2 separate regions of the Homo sapiens genome follow, and region 1 is linked to region 2. The links are contacts of gene promoters, found by promoter capture Hi-C in blood cells and fetal thymus (Javierre and others, 2016). All regions are on one chromosome and are shown on one strand. The core of a region is centred on a gene start or on the middle of the fragment in contact, and the rest is flanking DNA. Distances in the headings are between cores, read along the strand shown. Region 1 overlaps ZRANB2-DT (ZRANB2 divergent transcript). Region 2 holds the start of LRRC53 (leucine rich repeat containing 53).

Region 1 (7,334 bases), core at 4,438-6,937, 3.4 Mb after region 2:
CCAAGAAAGAGGATGACATAAAATCCAAAAAAATCAGGGAATTCAATACAGAGAGAAAAAAGATAAATGAAAAACAAAGAATAATTCCTGGTAATGACAACCTATAGTGTCAGTTAGTATACTTAGTCTAGAGATCCATGAGTCCAGATTTTCACAGGAGGACAATGGACTCCAGAAGGACAGACCTAAAGAAAATTAAAAATGGAAAAAAAAAAAACAGAAAGAAAGAATAAAAACCTAGAATTATGTGTTCAATAACATGGACTGTAGTGAAACCTGTTTTACAGTTCCGTGAGAAAGTTCAGGGCTAAAATAGTCTTAGGGACCTGGATTAAAAAAACCAATTGATATAATAAAAACTGTAGTAAAAAGGGAGAGGAGATATATAATCACAGTACAATGCAAATTTAAACTGTGAGTACTAATACCTTATAAAAGCATGATATAACTATATTAGGAGAACAGGAGGAGAAAAAATAAGCGTATGCATTAAAATGGGTTGAAGAAGGAGTGTGAAAGAGATAATCTTCTTTAGAAGGGAGCTAATAAAGCCTAAAATTGAAAAAAGCAAAAAGCCATAGAACTAGTAATAAAGTATGGTAAGAGAAATTGAAAGGTAAATATCAGAACAAACAGCTAAAACAGATTGAAAATAAATGTTTCCAGAGAAAGGGAAGAGGAGAGGGGTTTGCTTCTATTTATTTCTTTATGTACTGTTGTAGTACTTTTAAAATTAAGCACAAATATTACTTTGAGAATAAAAATTAACATTTTTAAAAGTAAATAAAAGATAAGAACTTTGGAAAATTTCATATACTTATAGAACCCTAACCAATAACAAATTGTAGCATAAGTCTAGTCATATTTTCTTTAATGAAATTAAACATTAGCTGTTTAATATATTTCTTGCAGTCTTTATGTACTAATGCACACTGCAATTTTCATAATATGAAAAGATTAATTTTAGATCAAATCAGTTAAAACTTCTATAAATTCTGGATTGTATGAACATCAAATTATTTTGATTACTAAGGTATTCTCTTAGGTCCCTTTTTGATTATTATTGCTACATAATGAATCATTCCAAAACACAGTGGCTTAAATCATTTTATTATTATCTCTCTTAATTTTGAGGTTCTGGTTCGAGGTCTTTCATGCAGTTGTATTCAGATGACTGTCGTGGCGTAATCCCAAAGGCTTCCTCACATGATCAGACCAGCCGAGTTCAAACTGGGATATGTATACTTTGGTGGCATGAATAATTTCAAGGAAATAATTGCTACATCCTGAACTTAACATGTACTCTTTCCTAAAATTTGACTGTCAGAATACTTATTCTGGTTTTTCTTATCCTTGTTATCCTTGTTACACTTTCAAAAAGAGGGATGCTTGTCATCCATTTTACCATGGCACATTGACCCTGAGTGCAAAAATCTCCAGAGTTCTAGGACGATTCAAAATATTGCTATTAGTGTTCAGAAAGTAAATGACCCTAATAACTGAATAATAAAACCTAGAATTAGTTTCAATTCTTTGCCTTTAACAAAATTGAAAGAAGACCTAATTGAGATGACAGCTGGTACATCATTAAAAATAATTTTTGATGATAGATAACTATGTGATTTTTGGCATATAACTTGGAAGGAGTTCAAATATTTGAATGACACTGCTAAAACACAACTCTTTCCATTCCCACCTACTTATTTATGAGAATACATTTTCTCAGATCTCGTATCTATAAAAACAAAAATAGAATAGTTTTTTTTATTATTATACTTTAAGTTTTAAGGTACATGTGCACAATGTGCAGGTTAGTTGCATATGTATACATGTGCCATGCTGGTGCGCTGCACCCATTAACTCGTCATTTAGCATTAGGTATATCTCCTAATGCTATCCCTCCCCACTCCCCCCCTCGCCCCACCCCACAACAGTCCCCAGAGTGTGATGTTCCCCTTCCTGTGTCCATGTGTTCTCATTGTTCAATTCCCATCTATGAGTGAGAACATGCAGGGTTTGGTTTTTTGTCCTTGTGATAGTTTACTGAAAATGATGATTTCCAGTTTCATCCATGTCCCTAAAAAGGACATGAACTCATCATTTTTTATGGCTGCATAGTATTCCATGGTGTATATGTGCCACATTTTCTTAATCCCGTCTATCATTGTTGGACATTTGGCTTGGTTCCAAGTCTTTGCTATTGTGAATAGTGCCGCAATAAACATACGTGTGCATGTGTCTTTATAGCAGCATGATTTATAATCCTTTGGGTATATACCCAGTAATGGGATGGCTGGGTCAAATGGTATTTCTAGTTCTAGATCCCTGAGGAATCGCCACACTGACTTCCACAATGGTTGAACTAGTTTACAGTCCCAAGAACAGTGTAAAAGTGTTCCTATTTCTCCATATCCTCTCCAGCACCTGTTGTTTCCTGACTTTTTAATGATTGCCATTCTAACTGGTGTGAGATGGTATGTCATTGTGGTTTTGATTTGCATTTCTCTGATGGCCAGTGATGATGAGCATTTTTTCATGTGTCTGTTGGCTGCATAAATGTCTTCTTTTGAGAAGTGTCTGTTCATATCCTTTGCCCACTTTTTGATGGGGTTGTTTTTTTCTTGTAAATTTGTTTGAGTTCATTGTAGATTCTGGATATTAGCCCTTTGTCAGATGAGTAGGTTGCGAAAATTTTCTCCCATTTTGTAGGTTGCCTGTTCACTCTGATGGTAGTTTCTTTTGCTGTGCAGAGGCTCTTTAGTTTAATTAGATCTCATTTGTCAATTTTGGCTTTTGTTGCCATTGCTTTTGGTGGTTTAGACATTAAGTCCTTGCCCATGCCTATGTCCTGAATGGTAATGCTTAGGTTTTCTTCTAGGGTTTTTATGGTTTTAGGTCTAACGTTTAAGTCTTTAATCCATCTTGAATTAATTTTTGTATAAGGTGTAAGGAAGGGATCCAGTTTCAGCTTTCTACATATGGCTAGCCAGTTTTCCCAGCACCATTTATTAAATAGGGAATCCTTTCCCCATGTCTTGTTTTTGTCAGGTTTGCCAAAGATCAGATAGTTGTAGATATGCGGCATTATTTCTGAGGGCTCTGTTCTGTTCCATTGATCTATATCTCTGTTTTGGTACCAGTATCATGCTGTTTTGGTTACTGTAGCCTTGTAGTATAATTTGAAGACAGGTAGGGTGATGCCTCCAGCTTTGTTCTTTTGGCTTAGGATTGACTTGGCGATGCAGGCTCTTTTTTGGTTCCGTATGAACTTTAAAGTAGTTTTTTCCAATTCTGTGAACAAAGTCATTGGTAGCTTGATGGGGATGGCATTGAATCTATAAATTACCTTGGGCAGTATGGCCACTTTCACGATATTGATTCTTCCTACCCATGAGCATGGAATGTTCTTCCATTTGTTTGTATCCTCTTTTATTTCCTTCAGCAGTGGTTTGTAGTTCTCCTTGAAGAGGTCCTTCACGTCCCTTGTAAGCTGGATTCCTAGGTATTTTATTCTCTTTGAAGCAATTGTGAATGGGAGTTCACTCATGATTTGGCTCTCTGTCTGTTATTGGTGTGTAAGAATGCTTGTGATTTTTGTATGTTGATTTTGTATCCTGAGACTTTGCTGAAGTTGCTTATCAGCTTAAGGAGATTTTGGGCTGAGACAATGGGGTTTTCTAGATATACAATCATGTCGTCTGCAAACAGGGACAATTTGACTTCCTCTTTTCCTAATTGAATACCCTTTATTTCTTTCTCTTGCCTAATTGCCCTGGCCAGAACTTCCAACACTATGTTGAATAGGAGTAGTGAGAGAGGGCATCCCTGCCTTGTGCCAATTTTCAAAGGGAATGCTTCCAGTTTTTGCCCATTCAGTATGATATTGGTTGTGGGTTTGTCATAGATAGCTCTTATTATTTTGAGATATGTCCCATCAATACCTAATTTATTGAGAGTTTTTAGCATGAAGGTTGTTGAATTTTGTCAAAGGCCTTTTCTACATCTATTGAGATAACCATGTGGTTTTTGTCTTTGGTTCTGTTTATATGCTGGATTACATTTATTGATTTGCGTATATTGAACCAGCCTTGCATCCCAGGGATGAAGCCCACTTGATCATGGTGGATAAGCTTTTTGATGTGCTGCTGGATTCGGTTTGCCAGTACTTTATTGAGGATTTTTGCATCAATGTTCATCAAGGATATTGGTCTAAATTCTCTTTTTTTGTTGTGTCTCTGCCCGGCTTTGGTATCAGGATGATGCTGGCCTCATAAAATGAGTTAGGGATGATTCCCTCTTTTTCTATTGATTGGAATAGTTTCAGAAGGAATGGTACCAGTTCCTCCTTGTACCTCTGGTAGAATTCGGCTGTGAATCCATCTGGTCCTGGGCTCTTTTTGGTTGGTAAGCTATTGATTATTGCCACAATTTCAGATCCTGTTATTGGTCTATTCAGAGATTCAACTTCTTCCTGGTTTAGTCTTGGGAGAGTGTATGTGTCGAGGAATTTATCCATTTCTTCTAGATTTTCTAGTTTATTTGCATAGAGGTGTTTGTAGTATTCTCTGATGGTAGTTTGTATTCGTGTGGGATCGGTGGTGATATCCCCTTTATCATTTTTTATTGCATCTATTTGATTCTTCTCCATTTTCTTCTTTATTAGTCTTGCTAGCAGTCTATCAATTTTGTTGATCCTTTCAAAAAACCAGCTCCTGGATTCATTAATTTTTTGAAGGGTTTTTTTGGTCTCTATTTCCTTCAGTTCTGCTCTGATTTTAGTTATTTCTTGCCTTCTGCTAGCTTTTGAATGTGTTTGCTCTTGCTTTTCTAGTTCTTTTAATTGTGATGTTCGGGTGTCAATTTTGGATCTTTCCTGCTTTCTCCTGTGGGCATTTAGTGCTATAAATTTCCCTCTACACACTGCTTTGAATGTGTCCCAGAGATTCTGGTATGTTGTGTCTTTGTTCTCATTGGTTTCAAAGAACATCTTTATTTCTGCCTTCATTTCGTTATGTACCCAGTAGTCATTCAGGAGCAGGTTGTTCAGTTTCCATGTAGTTGAGTGGTTTTGAGTGAGTTTCTTAGACTCCCAGACAATAATAATGGGAGACTTTAACACCCCACTGTCAACATTAGACAGATCAACAAGACAGAAAGTTAACAAGGATACCCAGGAATTGAACTCACCTCTGCACCAAGTGGACCTAATAGACATCTACAGAACTCTCCACCCCAAATCAACAGAATATACATTTTTTTCAGCACCACACCACACCTATTCCAAAATTGACCACATAGTTGGAAGTAAAGCTCTCCTCAGCAAATGTAAAAGAACAGAAATTATAACAAACTGTCTCTCAGACCACAGTGCAATCAAACTAGAACTCAGGATTAAGAAACTCAATCAAATAGAATAGATTGATGCTAAGCTTTGACTCATTCTAGCAATAAGTAATATTCAGCCACAGATACATACATTTATTAAACAAGAAATTGCTCAATCATGAGAATAATGAATATAATTCTAATATATTTTAGTTTTTATGTATATTATCTAAAAATTATTCATGATGTTTAGGTTAATTATATATTAATATGAATAATGAAAATTGAATTCAGAAGAATTCTTAACACCTGGAGTCTACATCACCAAATTTTTAATTACTTTTTCAATGTACATCCATATTGTTGTGGTAGGAAAAGGGTAATTACTAAAAGACTTTGAGGCAGAAAGAATGCATTAAACTAGGCTAAATCCTATTGAAAAAGTGGTATAGAAATAGAAGTTCAGGGTAACTTGTGACTGTTACAGATGAATTAGTTTAAGTACTTTAATATCGATTTTTCATGAGAATCGAAATGGCTATATCTCAAGAAGATACAACTTTTATGTCAATATTTACAATTTACAGTAAACTATATATTTTACAATGATCTAAGCTTAAATTGAGAAATTTTAGAGGTCAATTTACTTAGAGTCAATTTTAGAGGGATATAAGTTTTTAAGATGTACTTAAGATCACTGATTTATAATCTTAAAATAATCAACGAAACAACATAAAATTTGAACCTTATTTAACAGTATTTTACTTCAGAGTTATTTTTGTTAGTTGAGGCCAGGAGCAGTGGCTCACGCCTGTAATCCCAGCATTTACAGGCCAAGGCAGGCAGATCACGAAGTCAGGAGATCGAGACCATCCTGGCTAACACGGTGAAACCTCATCTCAACTAAAAATACAAAAAATTAGCCAGGTGTGGTGGCGGGCGCCTGTAGCCCCAGCTACTTGGGAGGCTGAGGCAGGAGAATGGTGTGAACCTGGGAGGCGGAGCTTGCAGTGAGCCGAGATCGCGCCACTGCACTCCAGCCTGGGCGACAGAGCGAGAGCCCGTCTCAAAAAAAAAAATAAAAAGTTATTTTTGTTAGTTGAAAGGAAGAATTTCTGAACATTTTCATATCCTGTTCACCTATACAGTTATTTTTATTGTACATTGTACATGTAATTGTGAGGCAATTGAGTAGCAAAATGAAAGAAGAAAACCTTGTTTCATTAAACCTGGCAGAAAATTGGTATGGCTGAATTTTATTATCATGCCTAAGACTAATTAATTAGAACTGAGATTTCTGGTATTGCCTAGAACTATTTTTACATACACAAAGGAACATGCCTAGAGTGTAATTAGAAATCTCTTTATTATGACACTTTTGAGGAATATGAGGGATATGGAAATATAGAGATAAATGCTTGTCCATTTCTTTTAAAGATTATTAGTGATATTTACTGAATATAAGACATCGATATCTAGATATGTATTCCTTGCTCTTTTGAATGACTCAGTGCCCCGCCAAAAGCAAGCTGGTACGCCCAGCCTCAAATAATCTTAATGATATTATTTACTCCAAGGCTCATCGTTGATGCCTGTCACAGGGTAGATGCTCAATGTCTGTTTGTTGAATTATTGAATGAATGAAAGAACTGGAATTTATCCAGTTAGTGAGTCAGTCAGGAAGACTTTTCCACTTTCAGAAATGTTCTATTAAAGTACAAATGTACATTGTACAGTGTTCCCAAAAGTCAGCTCATATTTTTGACTGCATCAGTGTTACTCGGAGTGTGTTGTAAATTTAACTTCCTGTACCCCACCTCATACTACTACTGCTAAATACTTTAAGCAACATGAGGTCTAAGAATCTTCATTTCTAACAGTCTCCCCAGTTGACTGGCATGCACAGTATTGACAGGAAGCTGGAGAATCAGTTTGGAAACAACAAAAACTAGGGCAGATTCATTCAGAGAATGAGAAAACAGGAAAGACGGTCAGAGGCTCAGGGGGAA
Region 2 (7,283 bases), core at 3,442-5,941:
AACGTTAATGAGGCATTGATTTACTATCTGACCTGACAGAATATAATAAACCAGTTGTCTTTTGTCCCCATCTGTAAAATTGGATTAATGTTATTAACCTTTTTTTTTAAAGAGTTACCCCTACAAGATATGTTGCATATAGAAAGTGCCCACAGGTGTTGAGAATGATTTGTGTAATACATAATAATGAACAGCATCTACCAAAATAGGGGTGGGGGAAAAGCTGAATTAAATAATCCCCATCAACAGAGCTGGGGACAAGAATGTTTCTGTTTTTATTTTTTTGAATTGCTATCAGTGTTTTCTCATAATGATGCTCATGGGAGCATGACTGTAAATATTTCTTTTAGACTTCTGTAGAGAGGTTGCTGGAGAAAATACTGTCTATCATGTAGTTAACAATTGTTGATATCATTTTTGTGAACTGGCAATAAGGGCATTTCATCTATGTAGAATATTCCAACACTGAAAAATCCCAGAAGTAAGCTGCCTTAACTTGTTATAATAAGGGTTGGGGAAATGTGGCTATATGAGGGCACATTCATTATTACTACTGGAGAAATAATGCTGGAATTAGTGATGGGGAATATACAAGCCATCCTCAACCAAGCTGTGGAAATGTCCTTCTTTTTAAACGTGGCTGACCATGCCACTTACTGTTGAGGTCCCATGGCCCATAGTAGCAAGGTCCCACGGTCCAGGTCTCAAGCAGCAGGCCTGGGTCTATTTCTCCAGCCTCATCCTCTATTGCTCCCTGCCTCATATAGGCAGGCTCTACACACAATGAACTTCTTTCTCACAGTTTTTCTCACATACTAAGCCCCACAGTAAAAGGACTTCATCTCTTTACTGTGACACCTCATGCCTTGTATTGTACGGATTTGATATTGCCTTCCTGACTCAACTATTCTCATCTTAAGTCAGAAACCATGTCTTATTTTTCCTTTATTTTCATCATTTAGCAACATATCTAGAAATTATGAATCCCTTCCCCATCCAAGTAAATAGTGATTGAGCAGATGAGTGAACAAACAAATGGATAGCAACATTCATTGAGTAGTCTTCAACATTAGTCAAAATTTTTTTTCCTGGCTAATGGGAAATTTCAGAACAGAAATAAATGACCATATTTTTAAAAATTTTGAAATACCAGAGTTATTATCAATAAGAACAGGGATGATTTGCACTTCAGACCTACATTCTCAGCCTAGTTCCAACTCAAAGATCCACAGAAGATGGCTTCACCAGTAAGTTGATTGTCCTTTCCTTCCCCTCTAGTGAGGCTCCTAAAGACATCAGTACTACTCTCTCCATTTACATTTTCTGCAAAGGCAAGTCCCTTCTTCTCAACTGAGTCAGACATCAGAACCTTGAAGGCAGCCAGGAGGTAAACTGGCACTATGGGGCATTAGGTTGGCAGGTGTAAGTATAGTCCTTTTAATAACTAATGATCTCCAGTCTAAAGAAATAGCCAATTTAGGAAGACTAGGCTTCTGAAGAGAAAAACCTCAGATTTCCCTTAGCTTTTATCATACTTATTTTTTGACCTACTTGAATGTCATTGCCAGATTCAGCTTTTAGTTATTTCCATCAGTGTTCAGTCTCCATCCCTCACCTGTTGTGTCTGCCCACCTCAAACCATGATCCCCTTAGTTTGACTACATCGGATGTCAGCCACCTGCCCACCCTGAGTTATGTCTGACCTCAATTACTTGCAATCTCTTCCTGACTTCTGCCCTAATTAGACTTGTGCCTCTTGTAAAACTGGTTGCCAACAGCAACCATCAGAGAAACTTCAGTCAAATAGCACACCCTTTCCTAGTATCATTTCTATATGTATTGGCATGATAAAACGTTAGAATTTCACCTTAACTTTGGTTAACCATATATTTATTTTCTGACAAAGCACCAAAAAATGTCTTTCAAGTCTCATACTGGGTTAGGTGTGGGTTTTCCGCATAGTCCCAAATGATGAAGGAAAAATAACATGACTATGACCCTCAGGAAGGGCACTGACCTAACATTCAGTCTGGAGTTTGTTTTCTTCCTAAGCTCTATGAAGTTATGTCATCCTCTGTATTCATTTCCTAGGGCTGCCATAAGAAAGTTCCAAACACCTGAAGGCTTCAAACAACAGAAATGTATTCTTTCACTGTTATGCAGGTTAAAAGTCCAGAGTCAAGGTGTTGGCAAGGTTGGTTCTTTCTGAAGGAATATTCTGAGGAAAATTCTGTGCCCATGTCCTAGTTTCTGGTGAGGGCTACGATCCTTATATTCCTTGGCTTCTAGGTAGAGCACTTCAGTCCCTGCCTCCATCATCTTCACATGCCATTCTTCTGCGTGTCTTTGTGCTCTTCTTATAAAGACACAAGTCATCTTGAATTAAGGGCCCACCCTACTCCAGTATAAACTCCTATGAACTTCTCACATCTGCAACAACCCTGTTTCCAAATAGGGTCACATTTTGAGGTACCAGGGTCTGAGACTTCAACATATCTTTTTGGGGGATACAATTCAACCCACAATACCCCTTCACATTTTTACCACAGTCTTGATCTTGTTTTTTATCATGAGTTCCAAACAGAATTTCTTATGGTGTCCTAAAAAGAGCACACATGGCTTTGGGATTAGATAGACTGGAGTCAATCCCAGCTTCCCCCCTTACTATCTCAGAAGATGTTTCCTGTTTTGACCAGTTTTCCCATCTTCAAAATGGAGATAATATCTACCTAGCAAATAATTGGGGATATTATATTAATAATATGTGTACTAGTACATAGTAGGTTCTCAATAAATTCTATCAAGACTTTTCTTCTTAAGTGAATAATTGTTAGATAGTAGAGAACAACAGCAATTTCTATTAAAATGGACCTTTTCATTAATGCTCCCCTTTTTACTTAAATGCTTCCTCTCGATAAGGAACTTCTGTGCAAGTGTATACACAATCACACAAATTGCCAAAAGCATCACAAAGCGCTTTCAGCTTGTCAGCTTGTAAGCCTCTGACAAATACATAGAATTGTGTGAAAACGCTTTAAAACAATTGCTCCTAGCATTTTGGTCAGAATGTATTTATTAGACCGTATCTTATACTTGATTGTGAAAATAAACAAGGACATAAATGATCTGGCTTTAAATGCTCTATAAAATCTGCATTACAAGACTCTATGATTCATAAAGGAAGCTTCTATTTTGGTGTGCCTGGGTAAATTTGGCTATGCAAACTTCGAATAGCCTTTGAATTGAAAAACGCAGTTATCGTTTACTGGCTGACAACCTTTTCAAGGGAGAGAGAGGCAGGCACTGTACAACCAAAGATAACTTTACTTAATTAGTTTTTGGAAGATTATTTACTCCCCTTAGTCTATAGAAAAACAAAGGTCTGTCAGCACCAGATGCATCTGAGCTTTGCAGATGCGGTTGTGGCTTCTTGAAATCTTTAAAGATTCATCTAAAATATGCTTTCAGGTCTCCTTTTTGTGAAACTTTGACAGGATAATAGAATTAGATTTGCTGAAATTCACTAAACTGTAAAGTAATGTGTCATCAGCTTCACTTACTTTCCAAAAAATATTTCTCTCTGGTAATGCTCATCAATCTAGCTTTTCAACCCCTAAACATGAAACTCTGAAACAAAAAGGATGACTCCATCAGTTACGCAAGTGACAAGATGTTAAACATTTAACACTCCCACATAGTAGCGCCAGCTGCCTCTGGATGAAGCAGATTTGCTTAGGTTTGGCATAGAGAAAAAAAGGAAGACAAAGAGAAGAAAAATGAAAGGAAGAGGAACTCCTCTTGCAGTGAGAATGCAAAGTTCTCTGCAGATGTGCAGGAGTCTGAAGTGGGATGTGCCTTCTGCACAAACCTTTTCTTCTGAGGGAACATTGCAAAGACAGTCATCATCAGGTTCTCAACTCCTACTACCAGTGCCCCTGCATCCCCAACATTTCATGGACTCACTCTGATAAGAACACCTAGTGCACTGGATTAAAATAATGAAAGGACAGGGACTCAGTAAATTTCCACATCCCGGTATAATTTCTCAATAAATATCAGCTGAATAAACGAACTAGGAAAGCACACGTGGACCTCTGGGTCATTCGGACTCTTTCTCCACAACCATTTCCTCATCTTAGGCACCTACCTCTGCTGTAATCTCAGGCCAGTGAAACAGTATCGACTGAGCAAGCTGTGTGCTAGGTTGATTCTAACAACAGAATCCCTTGACTTTGTTAACAGCCCCAAACTGGCATCAACTTTAAAGAGTCAAGACTATTTTCCTCTTTAAGTGTCTTATCAAGAGGAATGTTAGTGAAAGGGCAAAAGTCGTCTATAGTTTTCCACGGTGAGCCATTTACCCGGATGAGGGACAGAAAAGGCCAGCTTTAGGTGATCACATAGTGACCCCATCATAAGGCTTGTTAACAGAGAAGTTTTCCTTGTAGAGTGAGGCATGCTGCAGGGGGTGCCCATTTTGAAGAATACAGTATGAAGCTCCCAACAGTGAAGACAGAATGGTATAAATAGCAACCCGTCAGTGGTAGGTGTTTGTTCTTTCACTCAGTGGACTTCTGATGAGTAACTACCATGTGCCAGGCGTTATTCCAGGCACTAAAGGATGAAGCCAGGAGGGGGTGGTGTGGGAGTGGAGATGCATATAAAGAGGAATAAGGCATATGGCTGAGATGCTGGACAGTTAACTCAGTAGGTCTCAGATTCATCATCCACCTTTTAATGTAGAGATTCACAAACTACAAGCTGTGAGACCTTTGGGTAAGTTAATTTCTTTCTTTTGGTGTTTTTGTTATGATGGCTGGATTTTTACACCTTTATTTCTCTTTCCTCACCATTTAAAGAGACAGACTTATAAACAGATGATCATGTGGGTGATGTCATCAGTACAGGAATGTCATCAGTGCAGGAATAGTTGAGTGCCATGAGCCACCCTGCAGTGTTGCCTGTTTTGCACAGTTCTAGGGGCCAATCTTGGGTTCAAGGTGGAGCTCTACTGTGTCTATGTCACTCATGTCTCATCTAGATTACCATATTATCCCTAGCTCCATGTTTGAGTCTGTACAATCACTGACAGTAAACACAGCTGCAGAAATCATGCCCCTTTATGGTCCCTCACAGGTTCGAGTCATGCCCCAGGGCTATTTCAATAAAGACTGGTGGCTGCTATATCCAGTCCCATCCAGATCTTTTCATGCTCACTGCCTGAATGAAGAGAAGAGTCTGAGGTCTCAGTGACTGGAAGGGAAGCTGCATGAAGGAAAGCTGCCCTCTTCCTTCCGATTTTCCTTGGGTACTGAACTTACTTGACTCCATGTTCTTTTATTTCTACTTCTATTGACTTTAGATCCTCATCTATAGCTTCTGCTCTACCCACACTCAACCCTTTGCTGTTCCCAAATGTACTGTGCAGGTTCCCACTTTCCTGCCTTTGTCCCTGTTGCTTCCCTTTCCTAGTACACTCTTTCTTCCTTTCTCTGCTTGGTTAACTCTGCCAAACTCAAGTGAAACGGGATGGCTTTTGGGAAGCCTACCTTGACTCTTCTCAGGCTCACAGGGCTTCCTACACATGGCTCAGTACTTATCTTCCTGTGTGTTTCTCTGACCTCCTCCCTTAAACTGTGAATTCCCCCAGGACTGAAGAGATCTCTAATCCATCATTGGGTGTCCAATATTTACTACATGATTCAATATATAAGAGCTGCTTAATAAATGATAGATAAATGCATATCCAATGGAATTAGATCAGTGAAGAGGCTAGCGTAATAGGGAAAATGACACATACATTTGTGTTTTCCACCTGTAAGTAATATATTGTTAATTCTTTAAATAAAGAAAATAAGAGTGAATTACTTGAGGTCAGGAGTTCGAGACCAGGAGTTCGAGGCCAACATGGCAAAACCCTATCTCTACTAAAAATACAAAAATTAGCAGGGTGTAGTGACGTGTGCCTGTAGTCCCAGCTACTCGGGAGCCTGAGGCACGAGAATTGCTTGAACCCGGGAGGCAGAGGTTGTGGTGAGCCGAGATCGCACCATTGCACTCCAGCCTGGGCAATAAGAGCGAAATTCCATCTCGGAAAAAAAAAAAATAGGCCGGGCACGGTAGCTCACGCCTGTAATCCCAGCACTTTGGGAGGCCAAGGCGGATGGATCACCTGAGGTGATCACCAGGAGTTCCAGACCAGCCTGGCCAACATGGTGAAACTCTGTTTCTACTAAAGATACAAACATTAGCTGGGCATGGTGGCAGACGCCTGTAATTCCAGCTACTTGGGAGGCTGAGGCAGGAGAATCACTTGAACCTGGGAGGCAGAGGTTGCAGTGAGCCAAGATCGCACCATTGTACTCCAGCCTGGGGGACAAGAGTGAGACTTCGTCTCAAAAAAGAAAAAAAGCATATTCAGTTTGCTAAAACTCTTTATACAAGAATACAAGACTAGCTATCAAAATACTGGGCCTCTCTGGGTAGGGGCAGACACAGTGCTGTGTACCTAGAGGGAAATCAACACACATTTGTGAGCTAGTTGATTAATTCCATGAACTTTTCAATGCTAGCCATATTTAATTAAACTTTATATACTGTTCAAGATCCTATATATGTCTTTCCCAAAGAGAAACGGAAGTTTATTTAACAAAGTATAACACATAGATCTGGTAGTTGGTAGTTTTGAACAAATTATAGACAAGGTGCTGTTTAATTTAATGAGCAATAATTTTTTAAAAATTCAAGAGATTTGACAATCTCTCAATAATTTTTTTCTCATTTTATTCTTTTTTGAGACGGAGTCTCACTCTGTCACCCAGGCTAGAGTGCAGTGGCGCGATGTCGGCTCTCTGCAAGCTCCACCTCCCGGGTTCAAGCCATTCTCCTGCCTCAGCCTCCTGAGTAGCTGGGACTACAGGCGCCAGGCACCATGCCCGGCTAATATTTTTTGTATTTTTAGTAGAGACGGGGCTTCACCATGTTAGCCAGGATGGTCTCGATCTCCTGACCTCGTGATCTGCCCGCCTCGGCCTCCGAAAGTGCTGGGATTACAGGCGTGAGCCACTGCACCTGGCCTCAGATCTTTTTAAAAGGTGAGAACTGATTGCCCTCTCTACTACTGATCTCAGGAAGTAAAAATCAGGGGGTAAGAAATGTAGTTAAACATCTCTAAGTCATGTTTAAACTCAGAACTGTCTACCTTTTACAAAAGAAATAAAATACCCAAAGAATACACAAGCAATAGAAAATCTGTGACATTGAAATTCAAGCTGGGCGCATAG

The links. The method cuts DNA at HindIII sites, captures the fragments that hold promoters and counts their contacts. A CHiCAGO score of 5 or more calls a contact.
Region 1: a contact is called between a fragment that was not itself captured here and the fragment with the promoter of LRRC53 in region 2, in 1 of 17 cell types (endothelial precursors). The highest score is 5.2, in endothelial precursors.

Annotation. Positions count from the first base shown.
Region 1 is chr1:71,106,790-71,114,123 of GRCh38, reverse strand. The region is part of intron 2 of ZRANB2-DT (ZRANB2 divergent transcript); the gene reads right to left. Among named protein-coding and RNA genes, the nearest start is that of ZRANB2-DT, 29 kb to the right of the region's middle. The HindIII fragment of the contact is 511 bases long and covers 5,432-5,942 here.
Region 2 is chr1:74,510,019-74,517,301 of GRCh38, reverse strand. LRRC53 (leucine rich repeat containing 53) reads left to right here and starts at 4,691. Exons shown (of 5, transcript NM_001382280.1): 1 at 4,691-4,776. The region is part of intron 25 of FPGT-TNNI3K (FPGT-TNNI3K readthrough); the gene reads right to left. The region is part of intron 23 of TNNI3K (TNNI3 interacting kinase); the gene reads right to left. The HindIII fragment of the contact is 6,650 bases long and covers 3,187-7,283 here.